Linked DNA regions of Homo sapiens: region 2 is linked to region 1. Evidence: promoter capture Hi-C in human tissues and cell types (Jung and others, 2019). All regions are on one chromosome and are shown on one strand. Each heading gives the region's core, a stretch centred on a gene start or on the middle of the fragment in contact. The rest is flanking DNA. Distances are from core to core; before and after follow the strand shown. Region 1 holds the start of VSTM2A (V-set and transmembrane domain containing 2A). Region 2 has its middle 38 kb from the start of VSTM2A.

Evidence for each region. The method cuts DNA at HindIII sites, captures the fragments that hold promoters and counts their contacts. A contact is called where the count stands out against the background at its distance.
Region 2: a fragment that was not itself captured here is called in contact with the fragment with the promoter of VSTM2A in region 1 in 2 of the 25 tissues and cell types used here (spleen and stomach).

What each region holds. Positions count from the first base shown.
Region 1 is chr7:54,538,738-54,544,889 of GRCh38, forward strand. It overlaps VSTM2A (V-set and transmembrane domain containing 2A), which reads left to right and starts at 3,638. Exons shown (of 5, transcript NM_001301009.2): 1 at 3,638-4,072; 2 at 5,885-6,051. The coding sequence starts at 3,994. RefSeq lists enhancers at 3,276-3,776, 6,070-6,152. The HindIII fragment of the contact is 8,953 bases long and covers 1-4,903 here.
Region 2 is chr7:54,500,909-54,507,060 of GRCh38, forward strand. No RefSeq gene overlaps it. Among named protein-coding and RNA genes, the nearest start is that of VSTM2A, 38 kb to the right of the region's middle. The HindIII fragment of the contact is 3,110 bases long and covers 1,142-4,251 here.

The sequences.
Region 1 (6,152 bases), core at 2,388-4,887:
TTCCTTATATGTAGAATGAGTGGTTTGTATTAATTGCTTATTAAACTCTATTCCAATTCTGAAATTCACACATGCTATGAAGACATTGTACACATATGGAAAGAGGTATTATTCATGTTGCTTCTTCCATCATTATCACATGACAGACTCGCCTGTGTCTTTGAAATTGCAACAGGGAGAGACTGGTACATTCAGCAGGCCAAAGCATTGACTGGTATAATTAAGTGGAAAGCAAATGTGAAAAGCTCATCTTTGGTTAGTATGAGTTAGCAGCTTTCTCCTGCACTCTTATTTTCTTCAAATGAAATAGAATTTCTTTGTGGATATTTTTTATATTGCTTCAACATTTAAAGACTCTGTACTATTTCCTTTTATTTCCTGAAGTGAGAAAAGAATTTAATCCAGGAATGAGATTGTGAGTGAAAATGTTTCTCAGTACCCTGATATATTCTCTCTTATGCAGTTTTGATCATCTCCAAAGAAAGTGTTCAAGAACACAGTAGGATGCACATCGAAGGGCATGGACAGGAACAGCTCATCTAACCCAGTGAGGACTGTCTTCCAATTCTTTAGATGGCTATTTTAAAAGTTATTTCTAAAGGAAATATCTAATTTTGTATCTTCCAGTTACTTATGAAAAACTTTTAAAGTTTACATTGGCTCTTAAGCCTCAACTTATGACAAATTTTGAAAGTGTGATATGGAAAGCCATTCTATCATGAGCCTATGGGAGTGAAATACAGTGATCTCCCTCAACTTCAAGATGGAAAAATGTCTCCAAATCCTTAGGAGAAAAGGACAGAGCCACAAAATATAAAGACCCTCCCCCTTGCCAGTTCAGCTCTTAGGTGGATCAATTGCTCTCAAAGTTTATGTAGAAGCCTACAGACATCACAAAGAAACAGTGTTTGAAAGAGTAAGTTAAATAAGTTTGAATATGTAAAAAAATGAACAAATATAATCTAAATAAGATGCCAAAGGAACACAATGGAATGATCTCCAACAGATTTTATTACGCCCGAGGAAAGAGCATGTTCAGATAAACATTCCTATTTTAGGTTTTGGGGGAAATGTCTGAATTTTTAAGAAGCAAAATAATGACCAAAAGCTCATTAAGAGGGCAACAAAGCAATCAAAAAGTGAGATGGTAGAATTTGATTTTTGGAGCACTATCAATAGGTATTTTTTAAGAAGAGATTTGCAGTTATTTTTATAGGATAAGGCATCAGCAATCATTTTGGCAAAGGAGAAATGGGCAGGAAATATTTCTCTTATATCTGGATGCAGACAAATTGTCTTTCTTGATAATTTACTTCCAATCTTGTAGGAGAGTACAGTGCTTTACAAGAACTTGTATAAAGAATTGGACCTAGTCTCAGAACTGTGATCATGTGATATACTGAATATATTTACTTCTTAATTAAATTTTCTCATTTCAAACTGTTAACACAGAGACAGTTTGTCATTAACAAGGCAAATGACCTATAGAAGATAATGCATACATGTTTATTAGCACTATTTACAGTCCTTGAGATGATATAACACATATTTAAGAAAAAACTTTGGTCTACATTGGTAAAACTAAAATACCCATCAGGCACTTTTCATAAGGAGAACAAAAGACTTTTCCAATTTCATCTTTCTCCTTTTTTTTTTCCTTCCCTCCTTTCTTCTTTGTTTCCTTCATAGCTTAAACGCTTATAACTTTATTTTAAAGTAATTCAATGGCTTATTTGTACTATAAAAGCTTTCTCACACTTTATTTTTCACACTCTTAAGCTTATTTTTATTGTACTTTTATTGTTACAGTGATCAAGTACTTCTTTTAAATAGTTGAAATGCTTTGCTAAATTAATTTAGAACTCCTCTTACTTAAAATAAATGCCCTTTATATTGAGAACTGTTTTAACAGCAGATAACCTTGAAGTCAGGTCATTTCCATGACATATTATACCCATGTTTATGCTAAAGGTTGAAATAAAGCCAAAATCATGTTAGCACATTGAAAACATCCTGTTAGGCTTAACATTTAAAGCATATGCAAGGTTTTGTTGTTTACTTTCCACGTAATGCTTAGTATGGTTCAGGTGTATTAACTTGGATTATGTTTCTATGTTCTGAACTCATTGTCCATGAATGTTTGAACATAAAGTGATTTCCTTTCTTAGAACGATAAACTTCAAAATCCTTTGCTAAATACAAGGAGGATACAGAGTCTGGTTGGCCTAAACATGAACAGATATAAAATATCTCCCATGATTGTCTCCAAATCCCATATTCTGCCCCTACTCACAGTAAAAAATAAATATACTTTCAGAAAATAAATAATATTGTGATGACGTTATTGTGTCTTTAGTTTTCTGAGCTTTAAGTTATTGCTGCATTCAGCAATAGAAGATAAGTGATTTAAAATGCAACCGCTATGTTAAGGTTAATTTTTTTTCTGGCTAGTAAAGGCATTAGCCAACTACAAATTCTTTATCTGTAAAATGAAAATACATACCCTACATTGGCTTCCTGATAGCATTATTAAGACTAATTCATATTTCAAACTAATACTGAAAATTTGTGGCATAGTTGCATAGAAATAATAATGGGAATAAAAAATGTGTGCTCTTCTTAGATGGCAAATGCTATTAATTTTGTTAAAAAAAATTTAAATCCACTAATAGTTGGATTGCATAAGGTCAGATAGAGTCTTTAACATAATATACATTGTTGTTTCAGTTCTTAATTAAAAATAGAATGTACATCTCAAATCTTCACCAAGGCAGATAAGTAGATTTGTTCCACATTCTGAAACTTATTGTGATTTTTTGTGTCTAAAATAAGATTCCTTATTCACTTAGTCCCAGGGAACATTACATAAGTATTGTGCTATGCAAAAGAAAAGCAAATAAACAAAACAAAATCACGTAATGAAGACCTTAACGGTATTTAAAACCCCTCCCCCCTCCAAAATACATGGAAGATGAAGGAAAAGAAGGCAGGAGGTATGTAATTTTTTAAAAAGTAAACATAGTATGGTGGGCTTTTCTTTCCAGAAAATTCCCTCAATGCGTGACTTTTTGTACTTTTTCTCTTCTCCGTCTGCCAGCTGGAGCGATATGGCTCCTGCATGAGCTGCTTGTACTGAAAGCTGTTCAGCAAGAAATTCGTGTGAAATCGTAGCATGTGATGCTCCTGGTTGGAGCAGTTAATAACTGGGTAAGCGGCATTTCCCTAAATGGCTGTTTTCCTCGGCCCACCCGTCTCTCCCCCATCCCATTGCTCCCCGGTCCTCAGCAATGCCCCAACTCCCTCCCGGAACCTTTTGCTCCGAGCCCCCCGCCAGCGCCGCAATCCCGTCACTGTATTGTCCTCCTCGGCACCGAGCGATCTGATCCGCCGAGCCAGAAAGACACCCGATGGGGGAGAGAAGCAAAGTGGAAAAAAACCGACGTCCCTGCTCTCCAGAAGGGAGACCCCAGCGGCGCCGACGAGCCCTGCGCCCTCCGCGGCCGCCCGGCGCGAGCTCCCGGGCGGGGCGCTGTCCAGCGCGCACAGAGTTAAAGGCATCATCGCAGCCATTAGAGGGAAAAGTTGCGGCGCCGCGAGCCCGGCGAAGTCCTCAGCCCGCCCCGCTTGCCCACTCCCCACTTCCCGAGCCGGCTCCGTGTTTAGGGAGGGCAGTGATCACGCAAGCCGGAGCGGCGGGCTGACGTTGGACGAGCTGCCAGGTAGCTGAAAGCAGGCAGCCAGGCAGCCGAGACACTTCCCAGCGATTCCAGCCTGGGCTCCGCAGGAAGCCTCGCTGAATCCCAGCCAGCTGGTTCTAACCTTCCAGAATCGCAATCCCTTCTCCCCACAGCCAGCCCTCGCCAAGCAAGCAGCAGGATGTTTGCAGTGTCGCGCCCAGGGCTCTGAGACTGAGCCTGCCATCCACTCGCACGCCTTTCTTTCAGGGCTTTTCGGCTGTTGGCTACACTGATGTGACCCCCCTCCCTTTTTGGAATGATGGGGATCTTTTTGGTGTATGTTGGATTTGTTTTCTTTTCCGTTTTATATGTACAACAAGGGCTTTCTTCTCAAGGTAAGTCTTGCTCAATGGCAAATATACATTTGCTTGCGTGTGTGTGTGTTTCCTACACTCAAAAAGAATGGACAGGCAGATAGAATAAGCTTCCTAGCAAGTAACAGTGGGCTTAGGCTGTATAAATAGTGTTCTGTTTGACGATTTTTTTTAAAGTTTATTAAACTGTAGACTAGCTAGGCTGGAGAGAAAATCTAGCTGGTGCCTGACAATGAGGTGGGCTCCTCGGTGAGCACAAACACAGGGTCGTGTGGTGTGTGTGTGTGGGTGTGTGTGTGCTTTCTATCTGTGTGCATGCACAGGGTAGCCACTCATGCATACATAATCATCGCAAACAAACACAGGGCTGGATACTGGGACTCTCCATTGCCAGTCCCTCTTCCTTGTGTAGTCAGACTGGGCTTAGAGTTTCCCTTTTGTAGGTCCGTGTGACTCCTTTTGTATGTGTGTTTATCAAAGGACAGACTCCTCTGAGGACCCATAAAAAGCCACAACTTGCATGACAAGCAGCAGCAGCCTGCTGAACCCGATTGTTCAGGACTTCGTAGGCTGCAGTGGTCGTTTCAGCACCATGAACAGATCACATCTCTGGTGCCAAAAGACTGCATCACTTCTGCAAGCAGAAATGCCATACTCCTTCTGCCAGCTAGAATAGAAAAGCCCTTTTCCGATCAGAATGTCTCCTTAATAGCTTCCCTGTTTTAGGTACAAATATAGTTTCATTTCACTAGAGATCATTTTTGGGATTTCATAAAATGTTGAAAAGAGACAGTGTCTCTCTTTAAACCGGGGGTGAGGTGAGGGGTGGGGGGAGGAGTGCATCCACCCCAAATCATTTCTGCATTCCCCATGGCCCTCTTCTCCATAAGTGTGCATTGTGGTTGTGCATTTCCACTGGCCATACAAATCTTCCCAGGACTGCTTTTAGGGAACCATCAGCTCTTTGCAAAGTGCCCCTTAGATAAGATAAGAACAACCACGTTGGTAACAAGATAAGAGCATTGCATGTTCAAGAAATGCCTTTAGGAGGAAGGAAACATTATATTTTTGTGAGTTTCACCAGGGTTGCATGAATCTTGCAAACTAGCAGTGTCAAGGTTGGTAATGAAAAGGCTGAGAAACATCTCCATAGTGACTTCTAAATAATATTTAATCTGAACTAAGCCTGGATGTGTGATCATTACATCTTAAGATGTATGGCAATTCAAAATACAGTGACTTGATGGGAACAAATAAAGGTTAATTTGGAGAGAAGGAAACATATACAGTTTATAAAGTGTGCAACTTGTTTCACTGCTGCAGGCGTGTTTCACTGGTGTTGCTAATAACCGTTTTGATGTATCAGGAATGTGCATTTTGACAGATAATCATGATCTACTCTGTTACATGAAACATCCAGTTAGTGGTAGATTGTTTAGAAACTTAGAGGCAAGAGACTCTCCTCATTTATCAACTTGACAGATTGCCTAAATTGTATCTCACTGACTCTCTCAGTAAATGTTGTGGAATACTGCAATCTGACAAAAGGTATTTGGATCTACCTGCGGGGATCTTGGCTAAGAGTTATTGGCAAGCTTGTTAACCTTTCCATTATCTGGATTTGATCAACAACATAGTGATTTAGGTATGATACCAAAAGTTAGACAGGAAAGAGGCAAAGGAAGGGGGCTGGGGGAACCAGACGAAGCCGAGGATGTAAGAGAGGGGTTTTGTTGCTATTTAAGTCCAGGAAAAATGTAGCGAGCTCTCAAGGAAAGAGACTCAGGCAAGAGGGGTGTGGATATTCCAACAGGATGCCTTTCTGTTTTGCAGCAAAATTTACCGAGTTTCCGCGGAACGTGACGGCGACCGAGGGGCAGAATGTGGAGATGTCCTGCGCCTTCCAGAGCGGCTCCGCCTCGGTGTATCTGGAGATCCAATGGTGGTTCCTGCGGGGGCCGGAGGACCTGGATCCCGGGGCCGAGGGGGCCGGCGCGCAGGTAGCGGAGCCCGCCGACCCCGCGTCTCCCCTTCGCTCGCCCGGTCCTCAGGGTGTCCGGCCCGGGGCTGGGGGCCGAGGTGCTGCCTGGACACCCCTGGG
Region 2 (6,152 bases), core at 1,447-3,946, 39 kb before region 1:
CAATACCTAATTTATTGAGAGTTTTTAGCATGAAGCATTGTTGAATTTTGTCAAAGGACTTCTCTGCATCTATTGAGATAATCATGTGGTTTTTGTCTTTGGTTCTGTTTATATGCTGGATTACATTTATTGATTTGCATATGTTGAACCAGCCTTGCATCCCAGGGATGAAGCCCACTTGATCATCGTGGATAAGCTTTTTGATGTGCTGCTGGATTCGGTTTGCCAGTATTTTATTGAGGATTTTTGCATCAATGTTCATCATGGATATTGGTCTAAAATTCTCTTTTTTGGTTGTGTCTCTGCCAGGCTTTGGTATCAGGATGATGCTGGCCTCATAAAATGAGTTAGGGAGGATTCCCTCTTTTTCTATTGATTGGAATAGTTTCAGAAGGAATGGTACCAGCTCCTCCTTGTACCTCTGGTAGAATTCGGCTGTGAATCCATCTGGTCCTGGACTCTTTTTGTTGGTAACCTATTGATTATTGCCACAATTTCAGAGCCTGTTATTTGTCTATTCAGAGATTCAACTTCTTCCTGGTTTAGTCTTGGGAAAGTGTTTGTGTCGAGGAATTTATCCATTTATTCTAGATTTTCTAGTTTATTTGTGTAGAGGTGTTTGTAGTATTCTCTGATGCTAGTTTGTATTTCTGTGGGATCAGTGGTGATATTCCCTTTATCATTTTTTATTGCATCTATTTCATTCTTCTCTCTTTTCCTCTTTATTAGTCTTGCTAGCGGTCTATCAATTGTGTTGATCTTTTCAAAAAACCAGCTCCTGGATTCATTAATTTTTTGAAGGGTTTTTTTGTGTCTCTATTTCCTTCAGTTCTGCTCTGATTTTAGTTATTTCTTGCCTTCTGCTAGCTTTTGAATGTGTTTCCTCTTGCTTTTCTAGTTCTTTTAATTGTGATTTTAGGGTGTCAATTTTGGATCTTTTCTGCTTTCTCTTGTGGGCATTTAGTGCTATAAATTTCCCTCTACACACTGCTTTGAATGTGTCCCAGAGATTCTGGTATGCTGTGTCTTTGTTCTCGTTGGTTTCAAAGAACATCTTTATTTCTGCCTTCATTTTGTTATGTACCCAGTAGTCATTCAGGAGCAGGTTGTTCAGTTTCCATGTAGTTGAGTGGTTTTGAGTGAGTTTCTTAATCCTGAGTTCTAGTTTGATTGCACTGTGGTCTGAGAGACGGTTTGTTATAATTTCTGTTCTTTTCCATTTGCTGAGGAGTGCTTTATTTCCAACTATGTGGTCAATTTTGGAATAGGTGTGGTGTGGTGCTGAAAAAAATGTATATTCTGTTGATTTGGGGTGGAGAGTTCTGTAGATGTCTATTAGGTCCACTTGGTGCAGAGCTGAGTTCAATTCCTGGGTATCCTTGTTAACCTTCTGTCTCATCGATCTGTCTAATGTTGACAGTGGGGTATTAAGGTCTCCCATTATTATTGTGTGGGAGTCTAAGTCTCTTTGTAGGTCACTCAGGACTTGCTTTATGAATCTGGGTGCTCCTGTATTGGGTGCATATATATTTAGGATAGTTAGCTCTTCTTGTTGAATTGATCCCTTTACCATTATGTAATGGCCTTCTTTGTCTCTTTTGATCTTTGTTGGTTTAAAGTCTGTTTTATCAGAGACTAGGATTGCAAGCCCTACCTTTTTTTGTTTTCCATTTGCTTGGTAGATCTTCCTCCATCCCTTTATTTTGAGCCTATGTGTGTCTCTGCACGTGAGATGGGTTTCCTGAATACAACACACTGATGGGTCTTGACTCTTTATCCAATTTGCCAGTCTGTGTCTTTTAACTGGAACATTTAGCCCATTTACGTTTAAAGTTAATATTGTTATGTGTGAATTTGATCCTGTCATTATGATGTTAGCTGGTTATTTTGCTCGTTAGTTGATGCAGTTTCTTCCTAGCCTTGATGGTCTTTACAATTTGGCATGTTTTTGCAGTGGCTGGTACCGGTTGTTCCTTTCCATGTTTAGTGCTTCCTTCAGGAGCTCTTTTAGGGCAGGCCTGGTGGTGACAAAATCTCTCAGCGTTTGCTTGTCTGTAAAGGATTTTATTTCTCCTTCACTTATGAAGCTTAGTTTCTCTGGATATGAAATTCTGGGTTGAAAATTCTTTTCTTTAAGAATGTTGAATATTGGCCCCCACTCTCTTCTGGCTTGTAGAGTTTCTGCTGAGAGATCAGCTGTTAGTCTGATGGGCTTCCCTTTGTGGGTAACCCGACCTTTCTCTCTGGCTGCTCTTAACATTTTTTCCTTCATTTCAACTTTGGTGAATCTGACAATTATGTGTCTTGCAGTTGCTCTTCTCCAGGCGTTCTCTGTATTTCCTGAAGCTGAATGTTGGCCTGCCTTGCTGGATTGGGGAAGTTCTCCTGGATAATATCCTGCAGAGTGTTTTCCAACTTTGTTCCATTCTCCCCGTCACTTTCAGGTACACCAATCAGACGTAGATTTGGTCTTTTCACATAGTCCCATATTTCTTGGAGACTTTGTCGTTTCTTTTTATTCTTTTTTCTCTAAACTTCCCTTCTTGCTTCATTTCATTCATTTCATCTTCCATGACTGATACCCTTTCTTCCATTTGATCGCATCAACTCCTGAGGCTTCTGCATTCTTCACGTAGTTCTCAAGCCTTGGCTTTCAGCTCCATCAGTTCCTTTAAGCACTTCTCTGCATTGGTTACTCTAGTTATACATTCATCTCATTTTTTTTCAAAGTTTTTAACTTCTTTGCCATTAGTTTGAATTTCCTCCTGTAGCTCAGAGTAGTTTGATCGTCTGAAGCCTTCTTCTCTCAACTCGTCAAAGTCATTCTCCGTCCAGCTTTGTTCCATTGCTGGTGAGGAACTGCATTCCTTTGGAGGAGGGGAGGTGCTCTGCTTTTTAGAGTTTCCAGTTTTTCTGCTCTGTTTTTTCCCCATCTTTGTGGTTTTATCTACTTTTGGTGTTTGATGATGGTGACATACAGATGGGTTTTTGGTGTGGATGTCCTTTCTGTTTGTTAGTTTTCCTTCTAACAGACAGGACCCTCAGCTGCAGGTCTGTTGGAGTTTGCTAGAGGTCCACTCCAGACCCTGTTTTCCTGGGTACCAGCAGCGGTGGCTGCAGAACAGCCGTGGCTGTAGAACAGCAGATTTTCGTGAACTGCAAATGCTGCTGCCTGATCGTTCCTCTGGAAGTTTTGTCTCAGAGGAGTACCCCACCGTGTGAGGTGTCAGTCTGCCCCTACTAGGGGGTGCCTCCCAGTTAGGCTGCTCAGGGGTCAGGGACCCACTTGAGGAGGCAGTCTGCCCATTCTCAGATCTCCAGCTGCATGCTGGGAGAACCACTACTCTCTTCAAAGCTGTCAGACAGGCACGTTTAAGTCTGCAGAGGTTACTGCTGTCTTTTTGTTTGTCTGTGCCCTGCCCCCAGAGGTGGAGCCTACAGAGGCAGGCAGGCCTCCTTGAGCTGTGGTGGGCTCCACCCAGTTCAAGCTTCCCCACTGCTTTGTTTACCTAAGCAAGCCTGGGCAATGGTGGGCACCCCTCCCCCAGCCTCACTGCCGCCTTGCAGTTTGATCTCAGACTGCTGTGCTAGCAATCAGTGAGACTCCGTGGACATAGGACCCTCTGAGCCAGGTGCAGGATATAATCTCCTGGTGTGCCATTTTTTAAGCCCATTGGAAAAGCGCAGTATTGGGGTGGGAGTGACCCAATTTTCCAGGTGCCGTCTGTCACCCCTTTCTTTGACTAGGAAAGGGAACTCCCTGACCCCTTGCACTTCCCGAGTGAGGCAATGCCTCGCCCTGCTTCGGCTCGCGCACGGTGCGCTGCATGCACTGTCCTGCACCCACTTTCTGGCACTCCCTAGTGACATGAACCCAGTACCTCAGATGGAAATGCAGAAATCACCTGTCTTCTGCGTCACTCACGCTGGGAGCTGTAGACTGGAGCTGTTCCTCTTAGGCCATCTTGGCTCCACCGAGTCTGAACATTTCTAAGAGCCATTTTTTTCTTCTCTTATATGTGCATTTAAAATAAGCCATAAATTTCCTCTCAAACATTGTTTCAACTCTCTCTCACGTGAAATTTATATGCTTTGCTTTTCTATAACTCATATAAAAAGATTTCAAATTTTTATTGCGATCACTTTTGTGACCTATAGATTTTTAAAAGTTTGTTGCTTAATTTCCAACCATCTAAGGATTTTCTAGTTATCTTTCTGTTATTGGTTTCTGGTTTAATTCCACTATAATCAGAGATTATAACTTGCATTATTATATTTCATTCCTTTGAAATTTACTAAAACCTGCTTTGTGGCCCTGCATAATATAGTTTATTTTGATAAATGACACATGTGCCCATGTGTACTAGAAAGAAATGTGAATGCTACAGTTGTGGGAAGTGGTGTTCTCCATGTGTCAATTAGGTCAAATTATTTAATCCTGTTGTCCAAATCTTCTGTTTTACTGATATTGAGATTGTTCACTCTGCTACTTGTGGTGTGTTGAAATCTCTACTGATGAAAAGATTTCTATTTCTCCTTGTTTCTCTACAATTTTTGTTTAGTATATTTTGATGTTATTAAATACATACAAATTTATTGTTTGATTTCTTCTTGTTAAATTGGCATTTTCATCATTATAAAATCCCCCTCTTTATGTCTAGGAATAATTTAAAGTCTGATTTTTCTGGTAGTACTATAATCACACCATGATTTTACTGGTTACTGCTTTCTTCATACAGTCGATTCTCATTATCCATGTAATTATGCTCTATAAAGTTGCATGAATTAGTGTTAGTTGTGAGCACTGAATTAACAAATATTAAACCATTGTCCCCAGGGGAATTACTGGGTTAGGTTTCTGTGAGCCTCTGATCACAAACATTTCATGAACTGAGCAATACATAACCTTGTTTTATGTGTGTTTCTATATAATGACACCTTACCTAATATGCATTGTTAATTCATTAGCATTAAACGCACAGCCAACTGCACTATCACTCACACTGGCAGGAAGCTTCTCCAACACAGGTATTTTCTGCATAAGGCACATCACAGCCTTCTTGTTCTTGTGAACACCAGAACCTCAGCACTAACCTTGGGAGCAATTTTAAACAGAAAAGTCACCAACACAAAGCACAGAAATGCAAAAAAAATATGGCACTAAGTAGATCATAAAAAGGATACTTCTGAACAATGGAAGAGCTAAAACAAGAAGGCAGAATGGGACCTCATTTGACTTCGTCTGGGAATGTGCCCTTAAGAGACTCAAAATGTTCACCACTCTGCACAGGTTTGAGCACGACTGTGAAAACACAGAATACTGATTTAGGAGTTACAAATACATTTTGACTAGTAGGCAAACTTGGAATCAGTGAATAACGAGGACCACCTTTATATCTTCTTTCCAATCTTTCAATTTAAATCCTTCTGTGGCCTTATATCTAAAGTGTGTCTCTTTTTTATAGAAATGGTTGGATCATGCTCATTTTTTAATAACTATTATGACAATATCTGTTTTCAAACTGGAATGTTAGTACATTCAAAATTTATGTCATTTTTAATATAGTGCATTTTGAGCCTATCATCTTTCTATTCCCTTTGTAATTGTTTTACTTATTCTGTGCCCCCTTACTCCATCTTTTTTTGGGGGGGTTAATTATTATTTATTTTGCCTACATTTTATATTATGAAAATGTTATCTTAGTAGTACTCTATATAATTACAGTATTAGTAGTTTTTTTTTCTTATTATAATCTACCTTAAATTGGTGCATTACAAACTTTCCAAGGAGTGCAAGAGTCTTGAAACATTGCTTGCAGGGGAAGAGGCTCCTGTAATATTCCAATAGCACAAACCCCTTTCAACACTGAAAAGTCATTTACATTCCCTTCCCAATTCATCATCATGTCAAACAACACTTGGCTGTTTACAGAGAGACTGCATTTTACAGAGATCAGCTGAGTGTTTCATTATATTTTTATTATATTGCATTATGCAGATTCTACTATAAGGGAGACTGCTCAGACATGTTCTTCTGGTTACCCAACATCAATACATCAAAGATGAGGTAAATATTAGTAAATATTAATATTACATAGAACCTACAAAACAAACTTGTATAAAGTTTTAAAAACTCCCTTAAACTATATATT